Regions from separate parts of the Homo sapiens genome. Here region 1 is linked to region 2. The links are contacts of gene promoters, found by promoter capture Hi-C in human tissues and cell types (Jung and others, 2019). All regions are on one chromosome and are shown on one strand. The core of a region is centred on a gene start or on the middle of the fragment in contact, and the rest is flanking DNA. Distances in the headings are between cores, read along the strand shown. Region 1 overlaps NCDN (neurochondrin). Region 2 holds the start of ZMYM6 (zinc finger MYM-type containing 6).

The links. The method cuts DNA at HindIII sites, captures the fragments that hold promoters and counts their contacts. A contact is called where the count stands out against the background at its distance.
Region 1: a contact is called between a fragment that was not itself captured here and the fragment with the promoter of ZMYM6 in region 2, in 2 of the 25 tissues and cell types used here (aorta and lymphoblastoid cells).

What each region holds. Positions count from the first base shown.
Region 1 is chr1:35,563,092-35,570,012 of GRCh38, reverse strand. It overlaps NCDN (neurochondrin), which reads right to left. Exons shown (of 7, transcript NM_014284.3): 5 at 6,587-6,811; 6 at 6,104-6,246; 7 at 3,234-4,786. The coding sequence ends at 4,350. TFAP2E-AS1 (TFAP2E antisense RNA 1) reads left to right here. Exons shown (of 3, transcript NR_183387.1): 3 at 94-202. Among named protein-coding and RNA genes, the nearest start is that of TFAP2E, 6.8 kb to the left of the region's middle. The HindIII fragment of the contact is 6,197 bases long and covers 1-4,807 here.
Region 2 is chr1:35,029,257-35,036,109 of GRCh38, reverse strand. ZMYM6 (zinc finger MYM-type containing 6) reads left to right here and starts at 4,165. Exons shown (of 16, transcript NM_007167.4): 1 at 4,165-4,295; 2 at 5,397-5,563. The coding sequence starts at 5,471. It overlaps LOC124903990 (a long non-coding RNA gene), which reads right to left and starts at 3,390. Exons shown (of 2, transcript XR_007065739.1): 1 at 2,953-3,390. RefSeq lists enhancers at 3,976-4,155, 3,812-4,336, 4,337-4,863 and a silencer at 4,326-4,445. The HindIII fragment of the contact is 33,615 bases long and covers 1-6,853 here.

The sequences.
Region 1 (6,921 bases), core at 460-2,959, 540 kb before region 2:
CCCATGACCCATCTTCGGGGGAAAAAAAGTTTAAACATTCTAATGAGCATTCCAGACTCTGCAGTTGTGACTAACTTACTTTTCCTCTTTCAGGAACTGCTTCACAAGATTAAAGGAGAAACAGAAAATGTATCTAGCGCTGTGCTTGGGGCATGGCAGGAACTCAATGAATGCTTATTAAATACTGTAAATGATAAACACATCAATGGATGGTGTTATGAATCCACTGGCCTATTAAGGGATCCTTTAGGAAGGCTCTATGTGAACATGATCCTGGGTATCTACACATAGAACCCAGGTATAATCTGAAGAGATCATCTGATAAGTGAGTGATTTTGATTATGGCTACTGGGGAGAGGGATGTTCTCCATGGTCTGCTGCTGCTTTGAGTCTCCCTAAAACATCAGAGTCCCATGATTTCAGACTCAGGACTACTTCTTTCAGTGCCAAGGGACTCCTCACTCTCTGAGGCATGGAGGTGGAGATTTCTGGTTGTCTGCTCCCTGGGACACATGCACACATGTGGAGGCCTGGGGTGCAGTGGGGTACACATGCAGACAGCCTTGGGAACATGGGGCACACAACTTGCACAGAGACATTCATGGGAAACACAAGTACACATAGGAACATGGGACATATATTGACATAGAGTTGCATGCTCAAACATACGTGGACTCCCATTTGGCACACTTGGCATACTGCTTTTCTCCAAGGCTCCTTCTCTTTTCAAAAAGTGAGCTTGCATTTGGATTTTATGTTAAGAAAAAACTCTGATCTGCCTCATTTATTGTTGACACAGCCACCCTCATCCTCCCAGCCTTTGATCACCTCCTGCTCCAGGCCAGGCTGAGTGTTTGCAGGGTGGGGAAATCTGGCACAAGGAGATGCCAAGGCGCCATCTCGTGGTTAGATCTCACAACTGCAGCTCAGATCTCCCTTTTCCCCACTCCGCTGAAATACCAAGAGCAAGCCAGAACTCTCTGACCATACCTCATTTAAGCACAGAACTCTGTCTGCCTTGTATTAGGAAGCTTTGCAGGGTTTGACTTCTCCACTATGGGAGGGAGAGCACCCTGACAGCAGGGACCATGGGTGGCTGTCACTTTATTTGGGACCTTTCTCTTCTCTTTTCACTTCCCCAGATGATCTCAGTCCCTCCCATGACTTTAGGGACCCTCTATACTGACAGCTCCCAAATCTGTCACTTGCCCAGACTTTTCTTGAGCTCCAGACCATAGAAAGCAACTACCCCTTGGATATACCATGAGCAGCACAAATTCGCCATTTACCAAGTTGAGTTGTGTATGGTATGCACAAATCTGTCTCTGTCCCAGTGTTCCCAGTGACAGTGAATGCCCCATTATCCACTCAGTCTCCCAGATCAGGAATCTGGGAGTCATCCTTGGTTCTACTCCCCTTCTCTTTACCCCTCTTCACTTCCAGTTAATCACCAAGTCCTATTAACTCCTACCTGTATCTTCTCCAGCCTCATTGCCACTGGCTTAGTTCAGACTTAGCATCTCCTCTCTGAGCTCCCTGGCTCAGCCATTCCTCTTGCAGTGCCTCATCTTCCCAAAATGCAAACGGGATCACATTCAATCTGCTAAAAAATCTGCAGTCTAGCCGGGGATGGTGGCTCATGCCTACAATCCCAGCACTTTGGGAGGCTGAGGCAAAAGGATTACTTGAGGCCATGAGTTTCGAGATCAGGCTGGGCAACAGAGTGAGACCCTGCTTCTAAAAAAAACAAAACTGCAATTTGATCTCTCAGCATGATTCCACGTTTAAGCTTCTGAGCACAGCACAGTAGGATCTGGTCCATGCCTGCTGGTTCAACCTCATCTTCCACCACTCCACACTTCACACTCTATACACCATGGAATGCGAAACTACTCGTAGTTCTCAAGCTTGCATGCCTTCAGACCTTGCTGTTCCTTTTCGTGTCTGCCTGGCAAGCCCCTCCTCACCCTGAAGTCTCAGAGCACATAGTTGCTGTAAGTTTTCCTGCAATCGTTTGGCCAGTCTGAGGGGCTCGCATGCTCCAGCCACACTGTGTTTGGACCTACATAGAAGCCACTGCTTACAGTTTTTTTGTTTTTGTTTTTGTTTTTTTGAGACAGGATCTCACCCTGTCTTCCAGGCTGGAATGCAGTGGTGTGATCATAGCTCACTATAACCTCAAACCCCTGGGCTCAAGAGAACCTCTCGCCTCAGTCTCGGGAGTAGCAGGGACTACAGGCACGAGGCACCATGCCCGGCTAATTGTTTTTCTTTTGTAGAGATGGAGTCTCACTGTGTTGCCCAGGCTGATCTTGAATTCCTGGGCTCAAGTGATCCTCCCACCTCAGACTCCCAAAGTATTGGGATTACAGGCGTTAGCCACCACACCTAGCCTCTATGTCTTTTCATATTTACCCCAGAGAATCCATGCTAAGAAGATGGCTTTCAGTACAACCAGTCAATAAATAAATATTCCTGTCTATGCATAGCCAACCACAGGTGGGCACATAGGCTATGCTCAGCACGTGCTTATAGGTTTGAGGGCCTAGGTGGAGGAGGTTGCGGAGGGTATGGGTCTGGGGCCTGTCTGGCTCCAACCTCACAGCTTTGGCTCAGGACTGGTGAAGTACCCATAGTGGGTACTTGGCTCATCTGCTGAAGCTTGCAGGCCCTCTGGCTTCTCATTTGGCATACAGGATCAACAGCTGGTAACCTGAAAGCTACATTTGGACTGCATGTTTTGTTGGATCAGTAGTTATTTAATTAAAGATAGTTACTGACATTCAAAAGTTGGGTTTCACATACAAATTAGGATTCCTGACTTCTTTAAAAATGGGAGGATATGGCAGGGCCACTTGGCAGCAACCCAGTGACATGGGGGCGGGGGTGCAGTGTTTCATCTGTACTTGAGAGCACCAGAGCCCCCACAAGGCCTGGCCACATCAACATGAGTTTGGCAATCTGCTGTACAAGTGAAAGATGTGGGCTGGGGAGTCGGATGGCCTGTGTGGAGTCCTGGCTCTGGCACTGACTAGCGGCAACACCTTGAGCCAATCACTTATCCATGCCAAAGTTGCTTTGTCTGTAAAATCAGAACCCTTCAGAGGATTCTTGGAAGGGCTGAATGAGGTCTCATGATGTGTTTAGCAGGGCATGTGTTCAGCACCTGGTAGCTGTGAACTGATGGAGCCTGGAAGGGAGAGAGCAGGTGCAGGGCAGACCACGCAGGAGGCTTCTCGTCACCAATGAACATTTATTGAGTGTCCACATGTGCACAGCTTTGAACTTGGCGATCACAGAACGCACTGGGGGAGGGAAGCAAGGGATCAAGAGTGTGTGTGTGTGTGTGTGTGTGTGTGTGTGTGTGTGTGTGTGTGTGTGTGGTCCCCCTGGGTTTATAAGAAAGGTAGTCCCTGCTGGAGCCGCCAGTCGCGTCTCTGCAGAGAGGAGTCATAGCAGGGGTGGGAGTTAAAGCCAGGCACCACGGTGGCAGTGGAGTGTAATCACTGGGGAAACATGCGGATTCTGGGGAAGTGTCCCTCCTGTTCCTGGCTCCAGCCAGGCCAGATGGCACCAGGGGGACAGGAATCAGATGCTCAGGTGTCCAAGCAGGGATAAGGACAGGCAAAATAAATAACCCCCCAACCCCCATCGTCACTCTGCTGCAACACGACACAAAGGTTTAAAGATCTGGGCCCAAAGACTCTGGGTCCCTTCAAGCAAGCTCAGGTGGAAGGAGGTTTCCCCACCCCCCACCAGGCCTGTCTGCCCCAGGTTGCCCTAGGATGGAGGCAGTTCAGACCCTGGGTCACTGAAGCTGATAGGAAGAACTGCGATATCAATGGCCTAAGCCTGCTGTCTGCCCAAGGGAGCCAAGGGCAAGAGCCAAAGGGCCAATTTAAAGGACGTGGACCTGGGGGGCCAGAGGAGGCACCACAGCCGAGGGGAGCCCACGCCCTGGCCGGCAGGGCACATGGGCTGAGGCAGTCTGCTCCTGCCAGCCCTGTCTTACCCTGGAGCCTCCCTCCTGCAGGGGAGCCAGACATCGGGCACAATGACACCTAGTGCCCCCCTCCCTGGGGGCTGCTCCAACCTTCCCCGGCCTGGCGGGGACAACCACGTTGATTTCCAAGCCGATCCCTGCCCCCATGGGGGCCTGAGGGGCGGAACGCAGTTCCTTACACTTGAGGGGTGGGCACCATGCCCTTGCCCTCAGAAAAGCCAGAAAGCTGGGGTGTTTTGGGGAGGAAGTCTGGGGAGGGGGGGGCCAGATTGGGGGCTTCAGGGAAGATGCCTCCTCCCTCCTTCCCTCTCTGCCCGCCCCTGGGTCTGTCCCCGGTGGACACCCCTCAGGGCTCTGACAGGCACTGCTCCAAGGCAGCCATGCGGTAGTGGCTGGCCGTCTCCTCGCCCGCCTGCAGCCTCATGGCCTCCCGGCACAGCCGGTTGGCCCGCGCCAGCTCCACCAGGACACCCTGATAGGCGGCCACCATCTCGGGCTTGACAGAGTTGGGGCTGACACTGCCTAGCAGCTGGAGCAGCTCCTGCGGCCAGCGGGAGCGCAGGGCAGCGGGGGCCAGCCAGGGCAGCAGAGGCACACAGCCGGTGAAGGCCTGCATGCCCAGGAACCAGAGCTCCTGCAGGTCGGCCCAGATGCCCTCATACTCAGGGGACAGGGCTAGCACTGCCTGGTCTGAGCCCGGGGTGGCCCGCGCCACGTGGGACTGTGATAGGAAGAGGATGGCAGCTGCGAAGAACCCTCGGGATGCTGGTGTTCCCTGAAGAGCTGCAAGGTAACGGAAGGAGTGGGGCATGAATCGGACAGGCCAGCTGCTGTGTCAGACCCTTCCCTAGTCCTCTGTGTAGACACATGCAGGAGCCAGGGCACAGCCTGGAATCAGACTGCCTGCGTTGAAACCCTGCCTTAGATGCTCACTGTGTGACCTTGGGTAATTAACTTTTCTGGGTCTGTTTCTTTACTTGTAAAATGGGCCAATAGTGCTCATCTTAGAAATTTGTTGTGAGAATTAAATGTGATCATCTTGGTACACTCAACCACCAAGACCTCTACCGGCACTGGAGGTGGGGGTGAGTCACAGGGTCAGATGGGAGAGAGAACCCCTCAGGGTTCTGGACACAGAGCTCAGACACAGGTTAAGGGAGTTGCACCATTTGATCCTTGGGCCAGAAGAGGGCGCCAGAGAGGAACATAAGCAAGTGACCCTGCTTTGCTTACTGGCTGTTCAAGGGGTGACCCTCACACTGCAGGTGCTCTCCAGGAAGCTGTCAACCTAACCTGGTGGTATTTGAGGGTGAGCCAGAACTGGGACCATGAAATTGGGGGCTGCAGAGATGCAGCCTGGGACTGAGAGTGCAGAGTGGGCTCCTGGTGTACAGGGATGTGCACCCCTTCCCATGACGGGGTACCCTGCTGGGAACCCCTCAAAAGGAACACAGAGGCAGTGGAAGGTACGGGCATGTTACGCCCTGTTCCCAGGCATCTGCTCAGCTCCTCCAACCTGACAGATGGGGCACAGGGAACAGGCAGGGACAGAGGGACCCAAGCAGACACCCACAGCCAAAGAGGGAGACACGGAGGGCTGCCAGGGGCTGGAGGGGACGTCCCTCCCCCTGCAAACAGCCAGAGTGAGGCAGAGCTAGGGAGAAGGTGTGCATAGAGGGACACCAAGTGCTGAAGGCTGTCACTGATGGGGGTGAGGTACCGAGCAGAGCAGAGAAAAACATCAATGGAAGGAAGTCAGGTTTCTGACTCAAGGCCTGGGTGGGGGCGGCTCCACCTTGAAAACACTGGATTCAGATTCCTCTGGCTGCCAGGGATTCCAGGTGCCTATGCCTGTGCCTGTGAGCAGGTCTGTACTTAACACCCACCAGACTTTGCCTTAAAAGTCTTCAGAAGAAAGAGAATGTTAGCATTTTGGGAAGAACGGTGGGGGTAGGGGATGGAGATACACTGCAAAGATTTCCTCTTGCTTAGAAAATGCTGCAAAACCATCTTCTAAAAATGGTGACTTTTGCCCCAAACACAGGAGGTCCACCCAGGTCTTCTGTCCTCACCCATCAGGACTGGATCCCCAGTTCTTACCTGGAGAGGTGCTAAGGAGCCGGGCCATGAGGAGCCCCAGGGTGGCCACATTAGCAGCCAGAAGCAGCCTTCCCTGTTGCTGCACTAGTGCTGGTAGCGACGTCATGAGGGTGTTCATTAGAGATGTGAAGCAGGCGTCACGCCTGGAAAAGAAAGGGGGGAAGGATGGAGGTAGGTGGGGGTCTAGTACAGCCAAATCAAGCCCTTGGCAAGAAATTAGGCAGTAGGGTGATTAACTTTGGGCCCCAAACATAGCATCTGGGGGGCAGAGATTGGAACAAGCAGACATGCTGAGACAGTACCTGGGGGTTCCAGCATGCCGAATCCTTGTGCGGGGCTGGCTATGTCTACTCTGAGACCCCCATGCTACCACTAACAAATCCATGGGCATGGGGGGCAAAGTAGGAGACTGAGAATTGAGGCAACTGGGCAGCCTCCTTTGCCTCCTCCGGCCTCCTCCCCCACCTCTCCCGAGCCCCTCACTTGATCAGCCCCGGTGCGGTGACCACGAGGTTGAGGAAGATGTGGCAGCAGGTCTGCAGGCCAATCTCCACGCTGTCAGGCAGCACCGAGGTGTCGTGGCCAGGGGATGTGAGTTCCCACTGCTGCAGGAAATACTTGCACAGAAGCGAGGGGGCCCCTTCCTTGATCAGGATCTCCCGGGGCCCATCTTCAACGGTCAGGTGGCACCAGCCAGGCAGGAGGAGCCTGGGGATGTGGAAGGGACAGACGTGTGTGGGATTGGGAGAGATGAAGGCACATAGATTCCCTTTTTAGGGCACCTTGCCTAAGAGAAATGGAAGTAGGGGAGAAGGACA
Region 2 (6,853 bases), core at 2,916-5,415:
TATTAAATGCCTAGAATAAATCTAACAAAGAGGTGTGCAATATCTACACTTAAAAACTATAAAGCATCAAGATAAATTACAGACACCAAAATAAATGGAGGAATATATCATTTTTATGGATTGAAAGATTCAACCCCACAGAATGCTGTTATTAGTTTCCTAAGGCTGCTTTAATAAAGTACCACAAACTAGGTTTAAAAAAAACAAACAGAATTTATATCACCATTCTTGGGGCTAGAAGTCTAAAATTAAAGATCGGTAGGGTCATGCTTTCTCTGAAACCTATATGGGAGAATCTTTCCTTGCCTCTCTTAGCTTTTGGTGTTATCAACAATCCTTAGCATTCCTTGGCTTGCAACTGCAGTACTTCAATCTCTGTTTCCATCATCGCATGGGGTTCTCCTCCAATGTGTATGTCTTCATATCTTCTCCTCTCTTAAGGACACCAGTCATAATGGATGAAGCGCCCACCTTCCTTCAGTGTGGCCTCATCTTAACTAATTACATCTGCAACAATCCTATATGACTAAATAAGGTCCCATTCTAAGGGTTAGGACTTCAACATATCTTTTTAGGTGACACAATTCAACATAATGAATAACAAATACCAATTCTCCAAAACAGGCATACCACTTCAGTATAATACTAAACAAAATCCCAATGGATTCTAAAATTTGTAAGGAAAGTTTTGTCACAACTGACAAGCTGATTCAAAAATTTACATGAAGATGCAAAGGACCAAGGAAAGCCAAGATAATCTTGAAGGACATAATAGGAGGGAGGACTTTTTCTATCATATACTAAGATTTATTATAAAGCTATTACAGAAATTAAGACAGTATGGTATTTCCACAAGGAGAAACAAAAGGAACAGCCTTCATAGTCCTGAAATAAACCCACACATATATAGACAACTGATACATGACAAAGGTGTCAATGCAGAACAGTGGGGAAAAGGACAGTCTTTTTAAAAAATAGTGCTTAATCCATGCAAAATTCACATGGAAAGGTTGAAATCTGACTTACCTTACACTATACACATAACCCAACCACAGATGGATTATAAAACTAAATGTGAAAGACTAATAACACTTCTAGAAATTTTCTTCATTTGGTAGGAAAATATTTCTTAAGAGAATACAATAAGCACTAAGCACAAAGGGTTTTTTTGTTGTTGTTGTTTGTTTGTTTTTTGGATGGAGTCTTGCTCTGTCACCCAGGCTGGAGTGCAGTGGCATGACCTCAGCTCATTGCAACCTTCGCTTCCTGGTTCACGTGATTCTCCTGCTTCAGCCTCCCGAGCAGCTGGGACTATAAGTGCACACCACCATACCCGGCTAATTTTTTTTTTTTTTCCTGAGGCAGAGTCTTGCTCTGCCACCCAGGCTGCAGTGCAGTGGTGCGATCTTGGCTCACTGCAACCCCTGCCTCTGGGGTTCAAGTGATTCCCCTGCCTCAGCCTCCCTAGTAGCTAGGATTACAGGTGCCCACCATGCCCAGCTAATTTTTGTATTTTTAGTAGAGACAGGGTTTCCTCATGTTGGCCAGGCTGGTCTCAAACCCCTGGCCTCAAGAGTTCCGCCCGCCTCAGCCTCCCAAAGTGCTGCTATTATAGGCATGAGCCACTGTACCCGGCCACAAAGGTCTTTTAAGTTCATCAAAAGACACCAATAACAGAGTGAAAAGGCAAGCTACCGAGTGGGAGAAGATATTTGCAATATATACAGTAGTCCCTCCCTTATCCATGAGGATATGTTCGAAGATGTTCCACAGATGCCTGAAACCTCCAGTAGTATCAAACCCTATATATGCTATGTTTTTTCCTATACATACATACCTATGATAAAGTTTAATTTATAAATCAGGCACAGAAAGAGACTAACAACTAACAATAGAACAATTATAACAATAGACTTTAATGAAAGTTGTTTAAAACTTATGAATTATTTGTTACTGGAATTTTCCATTTAATATTTTCAGACCGTGGTTGAGTGTGGGTAACTACGACTTCAGAAAGCAAAACCGTGGATGAGGGGGGCTAGTGTATATTCAAAAAAGACTTATCTTAGTGTATTCCTGATTGCCAAAAGAAAATGCCACAGACTGTGTAATTTATAAATAGTAGAAATTTATTTCTCACAGTTCTGGAGGTTGGCAAGTCCAAGATCAAGGCACTGGCAGATTTGTTGTCTTGGAATTACTCTCTAATTCCAAGATGAAACTTTGTTGTTGTCCTCTTGCTGGGAGGAACATTGTTATCATACAGTGAGGGGTTAAAAGGGCAAAAGGAATGAATCTTTGTGAAGGGCATGAATGCCCTCTTTTGTAAGGGCATGAATCCCATTCATGAGGATGGAGTCCTCATAGCCTAACCCCTCCCAAAGGCTCCACTTCTTATACCATCGCCTTAATGTTTAAGTTCCAATATATGAATTTTGAAGGGACACATACATTCAAACCATAGCAGGATTCATATCTAAAATATATGCCCATAAGAAAATGTCAATCCAATACAAAAATGAGCAAGAGACTTGAACAGGCACTTATGGGGGATATCCAGATACCCAAGGAACAAGAAAATGGGCTCATCCTCATTAATAATCTGGGAAATGCAAATTAAAACCACAGTGAGATACCACTATGCCCCCATCAGAATGGTTATAATTAAAAAGATATGCAGCAGTAATTATTGGCAAGGATGTTGGGAAACTGAAACTCTCATACATGGCTGAAGGGAGTATAAACTGAAACCACCATTTTCTAAAATTGCCTGAGATTATCTACCTAAATTTTACATATACATAACAAGCAATTTCACTTTTAGGTATGAACCCAACAGAAATGTGTGCATATGTATCACTGTTAAATAAAACTTGTAGGCCATTGTTTCGGGCTAAGCTCCTGCAGTAGGTCTCAATGAACCAGACTAAAAATCAAAATGGAGTCACTCACACTGAGGTTCCATGTCATCAAATGGAAACTACGTTGTTATTTGAAGTTCTGAAAAGTCAGGAAAAAGAGATAATAAGAGTCTAATTTCCCCTGAGTGCCAGTTTCAATTAGCATAATAATGAAATTTCTTCTGCTTTAATCGTTACCAAAAAAAGATAAACTGAAGTTACCTGATGTTAACCAATCAGTTATTTCTCTATTGTTTTGTTTCTTGGTTCTGCTTTACAAGGAAATTAACTTATTTATTTATTTTTTGGAAAGTTACTTTGAAATGAACCAATCTGTTTTTTGTTCTTTACTTCTGCTTTCTCCAGCCCTTCTCTGTCTATAAAACCTACCTCTTCTGCTCAGCTCATTGGAACACTTGTTCTATTTTATGGAATGAAGTGCTGCCAGATTCTAGAATCACAAATAAAGCTAATTGAGATATTTAAATTAAATTTGTTGTAATTTTGTCTTTTAACATCACCAATGACAAGAATGTTCACAGAAGCATTATTCCTAATAGCCACAAATTGGAAACAACTCAAATGTCCATCAGTAGTAGATGATTAAAATTGTATCATATTCATAAAATAGAATACTATACAGCAGTCAAAATGAATGAACAGTCACAAATCATACACGTATCTGTGAAACAATGTTGAATTAAAAAAACCAAATCTCAATTTTGAGCAAGTTTTTTCATTTATATCTCAAGAGATTAAAAAATTATACCTCTTAGGGTTAAATGGTGAGGATTAAGTGGGATGGTGCATGTGAAGTGCTCAGCAAGCCAAGTATTATTTAATATCATGCTCTCTCAGTAGGCCACCTTTCAGGAAATGGGCACTAAAGGATGCTACAGATTAGCTAGGTGTGGTGGCACGTGCCTGTAAGCCCAGCTACTCGGGAGGCTGAGGCAGGAGAATCGCTTCAACCCAGGAGGCGGAGGTTGCAGTTAGCCGAGATTGTGCCACTGCACCCCAGCCTGGGCAACACAGTGATACTCTGTCTCCAAAAAAAAAAAAAAAAAAAAAAAAAAAAAAAAAAAAAAAAAAGAATGCTATAGAGCACTTACAGCGCCTTCTAACGCCATCTCCACCTTTTCACTATTGAGCCTCGGTCTCTTTAAGAAGTGAACCATAATTGAGGAAAGAGGAATGCTGGGAAGTTCTACTCAGCTCAGGTCCGGAGCCTGACGGGAAAAGAGGGCGGAGACCAAGGCTGCGCAGGCGTGGTTGGCCGGTCGTTGCGTTGGGATGGATCAGGCGGAATTCCAGAAGAGAAAATAATCCCTGTCTAGATGCAGAGGACTTGGTTCCTATTCCAGTGCTCCTCCGGTAGCAGGGAGGCGACAGAAGGTGGGTGCGGCCGCAGTGGTAGTGGGCGGGACGGCGGGGCGGAGGCCACACCACGTGACGAGGCGTTGCGGCGGGGGCGGTGCCAGGTGGGCTACGCGGCTGGGGCGGCTGCGGATATCGCCTTAGGGACGCGTTGACATTCACTGGCTAGTCCACCGCTCTCAGTCGGAGACCACATTGCCTCGTTAGTCCTCAATGATGGGAGTGGGAATTCTTGGTGGGAAGGAGAATTTCGGAAAGCGTGCGGTTCTCAGAGGAGGGATGAGCGCCCGTAGATATTTTGTGGCGAGTGCGCAAAAGTTCTCATTTCTTCTTTGGAACAGGCTTTTCAACCAGTTGTCCGTTTCCATCCCGGACTATTCGGATAAAGACAACTTTGAAGAGCTTTTTGTTTTAGGTTTAATTCGTCCCGTTTAGTTCTTTGACTTTTAGGGGAAGGGAATTTACTGAATGGCCAATTGAGTTTCTTTTCTACAGGAAGGCGATTGTGAAGCGGGGCTCTGAGGGGCTTGATGCCCCCCACCCCTCACACGGAGACCTTGAAAGAGGCAGGTGACTCACTTTCAGTAAGGGCGTTCCTGTTGTTCGCCTGCGATGGATGGCATCTTGAGCTCACATCTAGCGTTAGGCCGAGAAATGGGGCCCTTAGGGAGGCTTCCAGTGAAGGTTGAGTTATAGGTCAGGGCCGGGAGGTTGTTGTGCCCCTCTTTGAGAAATAAAAGCCGACGTGGGCCTCTAAGTACTGATTCTTATGGGGTCAGAAACTATTTCTTGAGTCCGTTCTTCTCAGAGTTTATTACTTCCTCCCACGTCTTGGTCTGCTGGTCTAATTCCCTTCAATAACCTTCAACATAGGAAAAAACCAGAGTGTGTTGTGTGTCTTTAAAGATATTAGAGAAGTGGGAGCTGTTGCCCCAAAACTGTTTTCTTATGTAGCTACTGAAGGAACAGAAAGCAGGAAGAAAGAAAAAAGTTAGTTGTGGCCCCAGAAGAGTTGTTTTTCAAATGCCGAGCCGTGAAGCCTCATGCACTCAACACAAAGTTTTTCTTTCATATAGATAAGCCTGAAGAAAAAAGAATAAGCCTGAGTATGTATTTTAGGTGTCCAACTATCCATTACCAAGAAGAAATCTATTCGTTTGAGCCTGAGACACTCTTTGAGGTAAAAAATTAGAATGAAAGAACCTTTGGATGGTGAATGTGGCAAAGCAGTGGTACCACAGCAGGAGCTTCTGGACAAAATTAAAGAAGAACCAGACAATGCTCAAGTAAGCATTTCATCTTCATTTAAAAATTTAAAAAAATTCCTTCTTTTCCATCTGGTCAACTGAAAAATTTTAGTTAAACGGCTTCTGGTTTGTAAGTTTAAAATAACCCAAACTGAGACAGGCTCTCGCTGTCGCTGAGGGTGTAGTGCAGTGGTGCGATCTCCTTAGCTCACTGCAGCCTCCACCTCCCAGGCTCAAGTGATCTTCCCACCTCAGCCTCCTGTGTAGCTGGGACCACAGGGCACACACCAACATGCTCAACTATTTTTTTGTATTTTTGGTAGAGACGGGGTTTGGCCATGTTTCCCAGGCTGGTCTCAAACTCCTGAGCTCAAGCAATCCACCCACCTTGGCCTCCCAAAGTTCTGGGATTACAGGCATGAGCCACCATTCCTGGCTGGTTTTTTGCTCTTTGAATGAAAGCTATAACTACATGATTTTTTTGTGTGTGGAAGGAAAGTAATATATTTACCATTTTTCCATACTTGTCACTTAAAAAAAATTCTCTTGTATCTGGTAGTACTTTCCTTTATTCTGTTAAGAATTTGTGGTCTGTGCTAGTCTCTGGGGATCCAGGATTGAGCAAAGTCAGCTTAGTCCCTTCCCTTGTAGAGCTTATATGTTAGTAGAGGAGGCAGAGATTACAAAAGTATTGGTCAAGTAATATATATAATTACAAACTATGACAAGTACTCTGGAAGAAAAGCCTAAAATGGGGAATCTGACCTAGTTTTGGTTGTGGTCTGCCTGGGGATGGCTAGGGAAGGCCTCTCTAAGGGAAGGATGTGTAAGCTGAATTATGAAGAATGAATTGATTAGGCAAAGGGTATGGAGAAGAGTATTACAGACAGAGGGAACTGTGAATAGGAAAGCCCTGAGTTGGAAAGATGCATGGTTCTTTTTAAGACCTGCAGGAACAGTGAGCCTGGAACAGAAAAGGTATGAAAATGGTGATGATGATAATGATTAAAACAACAACAATAAAAATAGCTGGCATTAGTATATCAGTATGTAGTATATATTATATCATAATCATATGTGACATTATTAACTTAATATTTATATATGCTTAAGAGTGTGTCAGGCACCATTCTTACCACCATATTATTATCCCCATTTTACAGATGAGGAAACCAAAGCTCAAAAAAGCCAAATAGTTTACCACAGATCACAGTTAGTAGTAAATGACAAAGACTGGATTCAAATCCAGGTGGTCAGACTCCAGAACTTGTGCTATTCTGCTTCTCTATGATAAGGCTGTATATATAGTTTAAGGCTGGATTATGTAGG